Linked DNA regions of Homo sapiens: all the other regions are linked to region 4. The links are contacts of gene promoters, found by promoter capture Hi-C in blood cells and fetal thymus (Javierre and others, 2016). All regions are on one chromosome and are shown on one strand. The core of a region is centred on a gene start or on the middle of the fragment in contact, and the rest is flanking DNA. Distances in the headings are between cores, read along the strand shown.

The links. Contacts are between HindIII fragments. The CHiCAGO score rates a contact against its expected background, and 5 or more counts as called.
Region 1: a contact is called between a fragment that was not itself captured here and the fragment with the promoter of LNPEP in region 4, in 1 of 17 cell types (naive CD8 T cells). The highest score is 6.4, in naive CD8 T cells.
Region 2: a fragment that was not itself captured here is called in contact with the fragment with the promoter of LNPEP in region 4 in 1 of 17 cell types (fetal thymus); the score reaches 12.8 in fetal thymus.
Region 3: a contact is called between the fragment with the promoter of GPR150 here and the fragment with the promoter of LNPEP in region 4, in 1 of 17 cell types (fetal thymus). The highest score is 5.1, in fetal thymus.
Region 5: a contact is called between the fragment with the promoter of RFESD here and the fragment with the promoter of LNPEP in region 4, in 1 of 17 cell types (fetal thymus). The highest score is 6.6, in fetal thymus.

Annotation. Positions count from the first base shown.
Region 1 is chr5:95,808,103-95,810,802 of GRCh38, forward strand. No RefSeq gene overlaps it. Among named protein-coding and RNA genes, the nearest start is that of GLRX, 13 kb to the right of the region's middle. RefSeq lists enhancers at 285-334, 585-674, 1,095-1,174. The HindIII fragment of the contact is 3,103 bases long and covers 1-2,700 here.
Region 2 is chr5:98,919,805-98,922,504 of GRCh38, forward strand. All of the region lies in intron 2 of CHD1 (chromodomain helicase DNA binding protein 1), which reads right to left. Among named protein-coding and RNA genes, the nearest start is that of CHD1-DT, 7.4 kb to the right of the region's middle. The HindIII fragment of the contact is 2,275 bases long and covers 205-2,479 here.
Region 3 is chr5:95,618,645-95,621,344 of GRCh38, forward strand. GPR150 (G protein-coupled receptor 150) reads left to right here and starts at 1,443. Exons shown (of 1, transcript NM_199243.3): 1 at 1,443-2,700. The coding sequence starts at 1,632. RefSeq lists an enhancer at 999-1,614 and silencers at 1,784-2,183, 2,274-2,323, 2,341-2,635, 2,344-2,700. The HindIII fragment of the contact is 5,492 bases long and covers 1-2,700 here.
Region 4 is chr5:96,934,799-96,937,498 of GRCh38, forward strand. LNPEP (leucyl and cystinyl aminopeptidase) reads left to right here and starts at 1,282. Exons shown (of 18, transcript NM_005575.3): 1 at 1,282-1,376. The coding sequence starts at 1,358. LOC124901030 reads right to left here and starts at 1,277. Exons shown (of 1, transcript XM_047417984.1): 1 at 1-1,277. The coding sequence starts at 1,277. The coding sequence ends at 573. It also overlaps a transcript of ERAP1 not described here. RefSeq lists silencers at 1-85, 526-595, 1,536-1,605, 1,736-1,815 and enhancers at 196-335, 636-945. The HindIII fragment of the contact is 7,112 bases long and covers 1-2,700 here.
Region 5 is chr5:95,645,433-95,648,132 of GRCh38, forward strand. RFESD (Rieske Fe-S domain containing) reads left to right here and starts at 1,345. Exons shown (of 6, transcript NM_001131066.2): 1 at 1,345-1,385. The HindIII fragment of the contact is 4,150 bases long and covers 1-1,654 here.

The DNA.
Region 1 (2,700 bases), core at 66-2,565, 1.1 Mb before region 4:
CAAGGAGTGTTGAAGGGGCGCTTTGCATCCTTTGCTCCTTTTCTCACTTGGAGGAGGAGGATTCCTCTGGTTAGATTAAGGACAGTCTATCTGCCACTGGGCCACACCTTCACACAGGGGTGGGGAAACGGACTCAAAAATAACCTAAGGTGTGGCCGCCCCTCCCTTGTGCTGCCAGCTAAAGGCTTCCTGGATGGAGAGGAGAACTAGGGCTCCTTGGTTTTCCTGTGGTTTACCTGTCTGGAGATGCCCACACTGTTCCCTTTCTGGGGGCAGCTGTCCCTGCCACCCCCTGAACTTTTTAATCACACAGTGACTGATTTGATGAGGCTAAAGGAGATCTTCTATGCAGGGGGCTGGATGAAGGCACCCAGAGTCAGCTCTACACAAGGGTCGCATTCTAGATGTCGGGGGACAGCCCCCGTGGCCACAGGTTCCAGCCGTGCTCTTTAATTCTGTCTTCCCAGGAGTTGCTGGTCCTCCATTCCCAGAGTGGGTCCTTTGGTCCCCATTTAACACATCTGGCTAGAACCCTGGGCAGACTGTGTTAAAGATCATCCACACTCAGTTCTCAAGGATGACTTAATAATGGGAGGAAGCGCAAAATCTCCACCCCATAAACAGCTTGTAATTTTACATATGAAATGTTTTAAGTTTCACAAGGCACACAAGAGAATAGGAAGGAGGCATCTCTTCTTGCTTCTGAGAAAGCTCAGCTGCAGGTCCCCAGAGGCTTGAGCCCCGCCAACTAGGAGGGAGGAGTTGAGTGCGCTGGAAGAGTCCGTAAAAAACCCCAGAGCCCCAGCTTGCACGATGTTCTGTGCCGTCATTGGCTCTCCTAGTTCCCCTCTCTCTCCTACCTTCAGCTCTGCACAGCTCACCAGAAAAGTCGCCTGGAGACAGGAAGTATAAACTTGTGCATAAATATAGACCCATTTTTAAATATCCCTTGTGCTTAAAGGGACCAGGCCAGAATTCTCTTCCCCTAATGAGCAGGATTAAATTCTTCCCCTTCAAACATTCGGTGTATTTGGTAAGAAGACCCCTATTAATATAAGAAAGGAACTCTAAGTAAAATATCTCAGGATCCCAGTTCTTTACAATATTTCCCACGACCTGTGAACAATTATTATGGTGTAGTAAATTAGGGAGCATGGCTTTCTCTGGCAACCAAATGTCAAGATAACGACCTAATAATACTCACTGGGGATATAAATAGTGTGGTCTGGGCCACATAGATCCATTTACCACCAGTTTAGGAATTTACCATCAGTTTAAGAATTTACCAGTTCTTTCTCCTTAAGGGGCATCTTTGGACAGCCTTGAATTGGAAGAAATGGCTGTCTGGAGTCTAGCCCAAAGGGCCAGGTTGGAGGAAGCAGAGAAGGTGGTTATTAAAATCAACAACATTCGCAGGAGATTGGATCACTTGCTTTCTTCAGTAAACAGAAAGAGTAGAGCTTTGGCTGTGAATTTTTTGGTGGTTAATTTTTGCTGTTTTTTTCTGCCAGCCCCTATTGCCAATCTCTCTCCATGTTCTTTGAAAGATCATTCTTTCTATCCTTGCAGATCACACGGAATTACTCAGCAAGGAGCAGGGCAGAAAACAGGAGGTTACATGAGAGTCTACACACTGGCCAGGAAGCTGCCAAGTCCCTTTTCCCTGCTTGGCAGCCAGAACCCTGAGGATGAGGCCCAACCCCCAGCTGTGAAGCTGGAGAGACTGAATGGCTCAAAAGAAAAGGTGTCCAGGAACCAATAATTGGGGGATCTCCCAGTGAGGCAACCAGATCTGTACCTGTTCATTTATTCTTTAATTTGTTCACTCAAGAAAGAGCCTACTATCTGCCAAGCAGTCTTGATGCTGCAGATACAGCGGTAAATAGACACCAATCCCTGACCTCAAGGCACTTATATTCTAATAGTGAAGAGACAGTAAACTAAATAAATCATACCATATATTAAAAGATAGACTGGGTGTGGTGGCTCACGCCTCTAATCTCAGCACTTTGGGAGGCCAAAGCAGGTGGATCACTTGAGCTCAGGAGTGTTGATCAGCCTGGGCAACAAGATGAAACCCTGTCTCTACCAAAAATACAAAAAATTAGGTGAGCCTCCATGGAGGTGTGCATCTGTGGTCCCAGCTACTCAGGAGGCTGAGGTGGGAGAATCGCTTGAACGTGGGAGGATTGCTTGAGCCCAGGAGGCAGAGGTTGCAGTGAGCTGAGATTGTGCCACTGCACTCCAGCCTGGATGACAGAGTAAGACCCCATCTCAAAAAAAAGATAAATGCTATAGAAAAAAATAAATAAATTGAAAAAGAGGGATAGGGAATGCTAAGTGAAAGTGAAAGGGAGAGTGTTAGATAGGGGGATGGGGGATCCCTTGCTGAGAAGGTGACATTTGAACAAAGACGCTCTCGATGGTGAAGCTATCCGTTGGCAAGCCTAATCTATGCACACAAGTCTTCCAGTCAGTTTTTTTAGTGCCTCATTCTTTAAATATTTACAGATAGTCAGATCTCCAGACATTTGAGGAAGGCTTTCAAATGTAAAACAGAGAAAGAAAATTGGGGCTCAGAGGAAAAACAATAAAAAAGAGAAAGCTGCAGTTTGCTAACTTTCTTTCTATAGCCATTCTCCCCTTCTTTTGATATAGATCTCCTCGAGTTTTAGTGAGTTTTAGTTAGGTAAGAGGCTT
Region 2 (2,700 bases), core at 92-2,591, 2.0 Mb after region 4:
TATATTACCTAGCTCTGTCTACTTTGTTCACTGAGAGGAAATAAAAGCAGTGACACTTGAATATCAACAAGCACACCCAGTACCCAAATCTTGGTTTCTAATGCCATTCTCCAAAAAAATGGAACCAAGGCTCCTTGGAGAGTGGCTGATTCTAGGGTAAAAGTAAGGCAGTGTGTAAAAGAAACATACGAGCCAACCTAAAAAAGCTTCCAAGAGCCAAGGCTAGATCAATTTAAGTAACAAAAAAGTCAACTATTATACAATAGATACATAAAATACCTATTATACATAAATATATACAAATATATATTTTATAGAGTTGTAATCCACTAAGCTGGATTACAACTCAAAGCACATACATAAATCCATACATATATAAACGATTTAGAAATTTCCTTACAGAAATTCCATTTAATATATGTAAATACTCCCCCCACCAGGAGATGGAATTTAATTCCTATCCCAACCCTCTTGAAAGTAGGCTAGACAAAATGACTTGCTTCCAAAGAATATATTATGGAAAGGGAAAAACAGTAACTTTACAGTAGAGAAACTTGCAAATACTACCTTGACCAAGTGAGAGGTTAACACCACCAGTAATGTCATGAGGATAACATGTTTCCCATATGATGTGACTAGCACACTTTATCTTTGTGGTATTCTTTCTAAAAACCAATAACCCTAGTTTATCCTAAGAACAATAGACAAGGCCAGGTGTGGTGGCTCACACACCTGTAATCCCAACACTCTGGGAGGCCAAGGTGGGTGGATTACCTGAGGTCAAGAGTTCAAGATCAGCCTGACCAACACAGAGAAACCCTGTCTCTACTAAAAATACAAAAATTAGCCAGGCATGGTGGTGCACACCTGTAGTCCCAGTCACTCGGGAGGCTGTGGCAGGAGAATCGTTTGAACCCAGGAGGCGGAGGTTGCAGTGAGGTGAGATCGTGCCATTGCACTCCAGCCTGGGCAACAGAGCAAGACGCCGTCTCAAAAAAAAAAAAAAAAAGACAAATCTAGATTTCAAAAACATTCTACAGGATACCTGGCCAGTATTTCTCAAGATGGTTTAGACCATGAAAACTAAGGAAAGACTTAGAAACTCTCACAGATGAAAGGAGACTGGGGAGACGTGACAACTAAATGCAATGTGGCACTCTGGATTTAATCCTACAACAGAAAAGAGGGAGTTAATGGAAAAATCAATGAAATCCAAGTATAGAGTTTAGGTAATAGTTTTTTAAAAAAGAATAAAAAAATAAATAAAATGGCTATAAATCTTGTTTCCCCATCTGGAAAGTGGGAATCATAACAATGTATACATCACAGAAGTTTTGTGAGGATGAACTGTGACAATTCAAGTAATGCACAATGCCCTATGTGCATCATGCTAGGTTAAGGCACAGCAAGAGCTCAACAATCATCAGTTGCCATTGTTACTGCTTCCGGAGAAACGAAACTTACCTAGCCTCTTGCTAGTCCTGCTCAAGACACAATTAATTGGAGGTTCGCAGAGAATGAAAACCATGTATAACAACATCAATAACAAAGTGGCAAGATGCTATGACTCCAGATGAATAGCTTCATATAAATGTATATGAACTTAATACATAAGAATCACTTAGAATCTTGTTAAAATGAAGATTCTGATTCAGTACGTCTGGGGCGAGGCACAAGGTTCTACAGTTATAATAAGCTCCCAAATGATGCCAACACCGCTGGTCCACGGACCACAACTGGTGCAACTTTTCTATTTCTGTAGTTTTAAATATTTCCCATTTTAAAAAAAGGTTAAACATTTTCTCCATTCATCATAAAGTAATACTCATTTTAAAACACAAAACTGCACCATATATAACCAATCAGTCATCAAGATCTTAAACAAGCAGCTACTTAAGCAGAGTAAAAGGGGTAACATCACATTAATGTTTGCCCACACATTATGACTACATACAGAAAAGTAATCTTTGAAAGGTAACTCATACACCATTCTGATCTTTAACCATATAGCCATTCCTGAAGTAAATCATCACTCAAGATAACTTATTTAAAACTAAAAAAAGTCAGCCAGGCGCAGTGGCTCATGCCTGTAATCCCAGCACTTTGGGAGGCCGAGGTGGGTGGATCACAAGGTCAGGAGTTCAAGACCACCAGCCTGGCCAACATGGTGAAATCCCATCTTTACTAAAAATACAAAAATTAGCGGGGCATGGTGGCGGGCACCTATAATCCCAGCTACTCAGGAGGCAGAGGCAGAAAACTGCCAGAACACAGGAGACGGAGGCTGCAGTGAGCCAAGATCGTGCTACTGCACTCCAGCCTGGGCAACAGTGAGACTCCATCTCAATTAAAAAAAAACAAACCACACACACACTAAAAAAAAGTCTACCAGGATTTGAAAAATTTGCTTGCAAATACCACCACAAATCCACACAGCTGCAAATTGATGCTTTGAAATCTTCCAGCATTATCTTTAAAAAGCTTAACTTCAGTTACATAAAACTTTGTGTTGAGCTGTAACTGTTATACAGGTGCATCCTGGCCCACATTTCTTAGTAACTAAATTTCAAGACTGTCAGCAATAGCATAGCAAAAGAGACATATTTTTCCTGTGTATTCTTCTTCCTTTCAGTGAATAGTTATAGAGAGATCTCCAGACAGAAAGAATAGTTAAAAATTTTTTTTTTCAGTAGAAAGCTA
Region 3 (2,700 bases), core at 193-2,692, 1.3 Mb before region 4:
CTCTAGCTTTCTTAAATGTCCCACCAGGAACACTTATTCCTATGTCTCCACAGAGCTTCCTTGGGCTCCTCTGGACAATACTGGCATAGTATAAAAGGAATTTTTTCTTAGGTGATGGATTTATAGTCAAGGCAGGCATTTATGCTCGAAGGTATCTGAAAAGCATCGTATATCCACTAATTCATCAACTCAACACATACCCACTGATAACTACAACCTGTCAGACCAGAGCGAGGCACCACAGAGATGATGATGAAAATAACCAAGGTTTCTGGCCAAAGGACAACAGCTTGGGAAATGGGATTCCTACAGCAGCTGGCAGGACTATCATGGAACCCACCAAATCTTCCTAGGCCATGAATCTTAAAGTTCCAAATGTTTCCTCAGATTGGGAATGTGAACCCTAGACAACACTCATACCTCCCTGGCCCCCAGGCCAGGAAGTACAGGAAATTCTACTTTCACCATGATTAACGTGGAGGGTGCATAAAAAGACAAATGGATGCTTCCAACAGGGAAACTAAAATGTGTTTGTGAGGAGACAAGGCTAAAATGAAAGCAGCAACATTTAATCTAAACCATTTCCTGTGACTTGGATTTCTTTTTTAAAAAAATTGGCCGCCTTATCACTTTCTTAGTCACCTTTTCTCTAGGCTTATTGGAGGCGTAGCCCCTCCTAGCAACTTCCCATCTGCTGGAAAACAGAATCAAGAGAATGAGGAGTGTGATGACGCATCCTTCACTGGATGAAAATATTAGGAGAAAAGCAATAAATGCACTACCATTTGCATAAAACCTATTAATGCCCTCTTCAGACTAATGAAATGAATTTTACATCACCAAGAAAGCAGCTGTGACCCACTGCTCCTAGTATTTGGAACGATCTGCAACACTGCCACTCCTAAAAGCAACATCATTGACTTTAGTACCCTCTAATTAAAATACTTTCATTCTTGGACAGAGAAGACACATCTTGATCAAAATTCAGCTAATAGGTCTCCTCTTTGCTCAAAACGCTGTTAGGTTTCTTGTGTTCCTGTTTTTCTCATGCTCGTGCAGATCCATGGCATTTCAAACCTTTAAAATAAAAACTAATGTCTTTTCTATTTTTTTCCTACTGGCAATCACATTGGGGTGGTGGGGGCGTGTGGTACAATCTCAGTCAAGAGGTCCTCTCTTGTGTGGGTGCTGGCATAACACTGGCCGTATACAATGGCCAAGCAAAGCGACATTCTGTCCTGCTGTGCTTTACACGTAAATAGAGAATGGATGAGGTTCTCAGCGCCCAGGGGTCCGCGGCTTCCGCGAGGGTAGCGTCGGGGGCCGCTGCAGAGATTGGAAGAGTACCCGCCGGGAATGGGAGGGAAGACGCGGGGAAGGTGGAGAATAGGAATCATGTGTGTTCCTCGAGTGTACAACCCACATTTGAGTGACAAATCACGAGGACAATCGACAAAAACAACTAAGCGCAAAGCCGCCCGAATCCATCTCCCTCTCTGTGCGTGTGCCTTTTCAACTAACTTTGGGAACTCGTATAGACCCAGCGTCGCTCCCCGCGCCGCCTCGCCTCCACTTTGGTTTCCCGCGTCCTGCCCGCCCTCTTCGGTGCCTCCTCTTCCTCCGGGACAAGGATGGAGGATCTCTTTAGCCCCTCAATTCTGCCGCCGGCGCCCAACATTTCCGTGCCCATCTTGCTGGGCTGGGGTCTCAACCTGACCTTGGGGCAAGGAGCCCCTGCCTCTGGGCCGCCCAGCCGCCGCGTCCGCCTGGTGTTCCTGGGGGTCATCCTGGTGGTGGCGGTGGCAGGCAACACCACAGTGCTGTGCCGCCTGTGCGGCGGCGGCGGGCCCTGGGCGGGCCCCAAGCGTCGCAAGATGGACTTCCTGCTGGTGCAGCTGGCCCTGGCGGACCTGTACGCGTGCGGGGGCACGGCGCTGTCACAGCTGGCCTGGGAACTGCTGGGCGAGCCCCGCGCGGCCACGGGGGACCTGGCGTGCCGCTTCCTGCAGCTGCTGCAGGCATCCGGGCGGGGCGCCTCGGCCCACCTCGTGGTGCTCATCGCCCTCGAGCGCCGGCGCGCGGTGCGTCTTCCGCACGGCCGGCCGCTGCCCGCGCGTGCCCTCGCCGCCCTGGGCTGGCTGCTGGCACTGCTGCTGGCGCTGCCCCCGGCCTTCGTGGTGCGCGGGGACTCCCCCTCGCCGCTGCCGCCGCCGCCGCCGCCAACGTCCCTGCAGCCAGGCGCGCCCCCGGCCGCCCGCGCCTGGCCGGGGGAGCGTCGCTGCCACGGGATCTTCGCGCCCCTGCCGCGCTGGCACCTGCAGGTCTACGCGTTCTACGAGGCCGTCGCGGGCTTCGTCGCGCCTGTTACGGTCCTGGGCGTCGCTTGCGGCCACCTACTCTCCGTCTGGTGGCGGCACCGGCCGCAGGCCCCCGCGGCTGCAGCGCCCTGGTCGGCGAGCCCAGGTCGAGCCCCTGCGCCCAGCGCGCTGCCCCGCGCCAAGGTGCAGAGCCTGAAGATGAGCCTGCTGCTGGCGCTGCTGTTCGTGGGCTGCGAGCTGCCCTACTTTGCCGCCCGGCTGGCGGCCGCGTGGTCGTCCGGGCCCGCGGGAGACTGGGAGGGAGAGGGCCTGTCGGCGGCGCTGCGCGTGGTGGCGATGGCCAACAGCGCTCTCAATCCCTTCGTCTACCTCTTCTTCCAGG
Region 4 (2,700 bases), core at 32-2,531:
GCAGGCGCAGTGAGGCGCAGCCCGAGCCAAGTCAATGCAGGGGCCGGGGCTGAGGGAGGGGAAGAGGCAGAGGAGGCGGTGATGGCGCGCTGGGAGGGCGGCGGCCTCTGCAGCGAGGGTGGTGGCGATGCGCATACCGAGAGGATAAGGAAGCGGTTCCCGACGAGCCTCCTCGGGGCTTATGGGGCCCCTGGCGGTTCGGCCTCGGAGGCTAGCGGGGCTGCCCGATTTGGCACTGGAAACAATGGTGGCTCGGGGCTGGAGGCAATGGCGCGAGTGCTGGGGGGCAGGGGCGACTAGGGGAGTTTCGGTTTCTCGGGCCTAGCGCCGCGGAGCCTTGCTGCGGGCCCCAGTGGTAGCACCCCCGGGAACCGCAGGTGTTGATTTAAGGCTCGGAACAGGCGGGCCTTCTGCCCACATCCTGCGGCGCCCGCGACCCGGGCCGGGCGATCCGGCGCCGGGTTTTGTTATCCGCCCGCACCTAGAGGCCGCAAGGCAGCCGCCAGCCCCGGGACTGGACCCCAGGGCGCCCTCGGCCCTGCGAGGTCCCCGCCCTCTCTTCCGTCTCCTCCTCACCGCCCTCCTGAGGCACTCTGATGCGGGCGGGCATCTCTGCCGAAAACACCTACAGCGCCCGCTCCCTCGGTCCTTCGAGCAGTGATCCCTCCGCGGCCAACCTCCCCAGGGAAACCAGCGATTCGCGGTTCAGATAGCGACCTTCGCCCGCAGGTTCCTGCTCTGCCTTCAGACTTCGGCTTCAGTGGCACCTGCTCAGCGAGGCCTCGTCTAACCAAGCCATCCGAATTAACTACCCACTCACTCGCCATCACATCACCCCGATTTAATTCGCAGCGGGGCACTGACTTTACACTCGTGTGTCTTCTGTGTTTATTTATGGTCTGTTTCTGGAATGTCCGCTCCTGGGACTGGGACCATGATTTTCTGGCGCAGTGCGGGTGTCTCGGCGTCCGGGATCGGGCGGGTCGCAGTAGGGCTCCACATTTGTTGAGTGACTGAACACCGTTCCCGGCCGGGGAGAGCGCCGCAGCCGGGTCCACTTCAGGTAGGGGCTGGGCTTTCCCGGCCCCGCCTAGGCCCCGCCCCCAGCGCGAACCCGCTCCCACCTCGCCTGTCCACGGAGCAGCAGGGGGTTTGACTGTGCTTTTCCCTCTTGCTTCCCTCGCTCTTTCTGCAGCTGCCACGAAAACCCGGAACGGCGGAGCGGCGCCGCCCCTCGCGGCACCTCCCTGGCAGCCCTTGGAGGCCGCGCTGGGCATGCTCAGTCAGCTGGGCCGCCTCAGCTCTCGGAGTAGGAAGCTCGGGCGCTCCGGCTGTAAGGAGCCGCGGCGGGGGGAAAATGGAGCCCTTCACCAATGGTGAGTGGGCTGCCGAGGCGCCGGGACCCGGGCTCTCCGGAGCCCTGAGGGTCGTGGGCAGTCGTGACACGCGGGGTCGGGCTGCAGCCGTCTCCCCCAACACCGCGGGCTTCCCACGAGGGCTGAGGGAGGCAGGGAGAGGGGATCTGGGGGAGGCAGGGAGGTTCGGGGGGCGGGCGGCGGCCAGTGCGGGACCCGGGGCTGGCTTGAAGGTCAGCGCCGCCGCCGCTCGCCCGGGGTGCGGCCGGTGGGCAAACAGCAAAGTTTGGGCTGCTGTGCGCAGAGGAGTGGGCAGTGGGAAAGTTGGCAGCTCAGGTTTGCCCCCGGAGGAGGCGGTGTCGGCCCGACTCTCCTGTAGGAGCGTTAAGTTGTGGCAGCTGCCGAGCCCAACTTTTGTGGGGCGCCAGGAGCTGTCCCCCTGCCCTTCAGTGAGCTGCCGGCGTGACTTTTCCTAATAGGGCGGGGTGGGGGTGGGAGGCTTGGCAGGTTAATGTTGTGGAAGGAAGGGAAACTTCAGGAAAGGCTTGCTCACCTCGCTCGGTGCCGCGGAGGTGCCTGGCCACAGTGCCACCCTCCTGACCCTGCCGAGGTACTCGGCAGGGCCACCACGCATCCCCTCACTGGCTGCAGATCACATCAGTTTTTCAGTCAAAGACTTGTTAATGTCAAGGGTCCGTCACGGTGGTGATACCACTGTGTGACAGGAAGCGAGAGTCAACGCAGGGAGCCTGCACCCTGCAAACAGCCACAGCCCTTCACTGAACGGGGAGCATAAATCCCACCCTAGTTAGAACCATGGCTTTTGTGCGGACCAGAAGTGCCAGAGCCACAATATAGGGGTGAGATGTCTTACCGTTTTGCGGTGTTGAGTGTGTGGATTCCCTTTTAAGATAGAAAGTAGGAAAACTGCCAGTAAGGGAGACGACTCACTAAAAGAGGATTCAGTCTCTGGTTGACATGTTTTGCTGAGTGTGGTTGGTTACTTCAGGTACAGTATCACATTAATAGGGGCCACAGTCTATATCCCTGTTTAGTTTGTTAGTTACCACTCAAGAGCAGACAGATATTGTCCACTTTATCCCAAATCCCAGCCAGACTTTGTTGTATGCTGTGCTTCATTCATGGGGCTGTGAACTACTGATTATATTCTCCCTATTCCTAATGTAGAATGCTTTATTCTACTGCCATCTTTCTGTCTGCACTGTTTAATTAGGCTTACTGATAACAACTTTAATTCTGAATTTTCTTTCTCATTCAGGTTCTATTTGTAATTACTAAGACTTAAAGAATAGTCTGGTGAAGTTACTCGAAGAATTAAGGAAGG
Region 5 (2,700 bases), core at 95-2,594, 1.3 Mb before region 4:
ACCCTAGAGCCTGAGATCACTATGTCACCATACTAAATACAAGTTGTAGTGTTCAACCTTGGGTTCACACTGGAATCACTCAGGAAGTTAAAAACATACATTGAATCTGCCCACTCCCTTCCCACCCCAAATAATCTGTGTTTTATTTTGTTGGTCTGGCATACAGACTGGGCATTACGACTTTTCAAAACTCCCAAGCGACTCTAAGGCATAGCCAGGGTTAAGAATCACTGCACTGGAAAGTAGTCAAGGAAATTAAAAACTTAGGCTCATCTAGTTTCCCAGCTCGGAACACAAATATGAGGGTTTTGGTGGTTTTCTTTGTTGTTGTTGTTGTCAATTCAGGGAAGTACAATGAGAAAAAAGCAAAATTGCAAAGTTCATAATATGAAAGTGAAAACTCTCCATCTCCTCCCAAAGCAACCACTATTGTTTCTTTTGATTTTTCGAGAAAAAGTTTATGTACATACCTGCATGTTTGTATTTCAAAAAATAATTGTTTACATTAAAGAGAGGACACCATATATAGTATTCTACGCTTTGCCTTTAATATTCATTACATGATGGGCCTGTCCTTTGAGTATACAGTACACAGCTACGAAGTAATTCACATGTCTGTACTGTTGTGCTGTGTTTTATTGAACCATTCCTCCGTGTTATCACTTCAGCTATTTTCACTACTTCACAGCAATAAACATTTTTTTTTTTTTTGAGATGGAGTTTCGCTCGTGTTGTCCAGGCTGGAGTGCAACGGCGCGATCTCGGCTCACCGCAACCTCTGCCTCCTGGATTCAAAGCGATTCTCCTGCCTCAGCCTCCTGAGTACCTGCGATTACAGGCCTGGGCCACCACGCCCGGCTAATTTTGTATTTTTAGTAGAGATGGGGTTTCTCCATGTTGGTCAGGCTGGTCTCAAACTCCCGACCTCAGGTGATTCGCCCGCCTCGGCCTCCCAAAGTACTGGGATTACAGGCGTGAACCACCGCGCCCGGCCTTAACATCCTTATACATGGGTTACCAGCATCGCGACGACCTTCTGCAAATATTTTTATAGGGTAAATAACTGAATGAAGTCGCTGGGCGCATCTAAAATTTGAATAAATGTAATGAGATCAACAAACAACTAAAAAGTAAACTGATGCTATCCACATTTGTCAAGTACACGAGTATGCCTGCCAGTTTGAAGGTGCTGGCGCGGCGCTGTTGGCCAGAGATCTCTATCAACCAGGGTCATCTGCCGGCAATGCCATAGAGGCGGTCCCGGGGGCGGGCCTTCTTGGGTCACGTGGACGGCCTCGCCCCGCCCCCGTCGAGGCGCCGCGCACGTCTGGAGCTCTGGCTCGTGCAGTAGCGTCACGCGGAGGCGGAGCGAGGACTCGGGGACAGTAAGTTCTGTTCTCGCCGCGCAGGGGGCGGGCTGGCGGGACCAGCTGCTTCCGGCTGGGCTGCGGGCGTGGACTCCTCATTCCGGCTGTGGCCGCGCCGCTGCGGGGCCTGAGGCCCTCTTGGGTTTTGGTTCAGCGTTAGTTAACGGTTAACCCGCCAAGGCGGGCTTCCGCCCAGGCACAGGAGACTCACCGAGCTTGTTCACCTTGAAACTTGGGCCACACCTGAGACCTGCCACCTAAGGGGGGTACGCGGGTCGTTTTTAACAAGCTTTCATGGCATTTGTGCCATGAAAGCTCTAAAGTATAGAAGCTGCTCCAGGGCTTCCGCAGCCCCGGCCGTCCTGGAGATACTCGCCTCCTGGAGTCTGTGTCGAGAATTTGCAGCACCTGGACAGCCACGTGCAGTCTCAGAACTGCAGGCGGTCTTTACCGAAATGTTAAACACAACTTGAAGTTAGGCAGGATAACTGCCAGAGCTGGATGGACCTTAGAGGTGCCAGCTAACGCGCTGTGAGCGTTTTCTGCGGTTAGGCCTGCTCTAAACATTTGACATGTGTTAAAGCATTTATGTGCTTTACCCACACCCCTATGTGGCGGGCCCTTCTTAAAGTAAAAGAAACTGCAGCACAGCGAAGTTAAGCAACTTGCCCCAAATCACGCAGAACTGGGATGCAAACCCAGGTCTAGCTCACTCGTGATCACAATTCAACATCATACGATGGTGCTGATTTCCAGAGCAGCTCTGTGACTTTATATAAAATTATTGGGCAAGCGTTCAATTGTAAACATTCGTGAACATAGCTGTTGCACATTAGCGTTCCTTTTTTTTTTTAATTCAGGACCATCTTTGGTGACAAATATAAATATCAATACTATATATATCACCAATATACATATTTGCTTTGCTAAAAGGTTTCTGTGTCTTCAGGATAGTTTACTTGCAAGCCTCATGTTTTTATAAAAACGTGGGTGCTACCTGAATAAAACTAATGCCTACCCGTTGGCGGTTTTGTGAAGACTAATGAACTATTATATTCAAAGGGTCCAAGCAGTAGGCATTTACTAAAGGACAGCTAGTTTTATCTGTTATTATTCTGCCATTCAGAGAGATACCAAAACTACTCTCTAAGGCATTTCTCTTCCCTGCATGTAAAAGCAAGGGTGTCATACTTGAGATAAGCATTCTGATAATGTGTAGGCAAAGTTTCCACACTTGGTAAAAGCATCTTAGTCATGGTTCAAGACGAGTGACAAGTAAGTACGTTTCACTTCATGTTTCTTTTATCTCCCGTGTCTTGTGGAAATTTGAGTT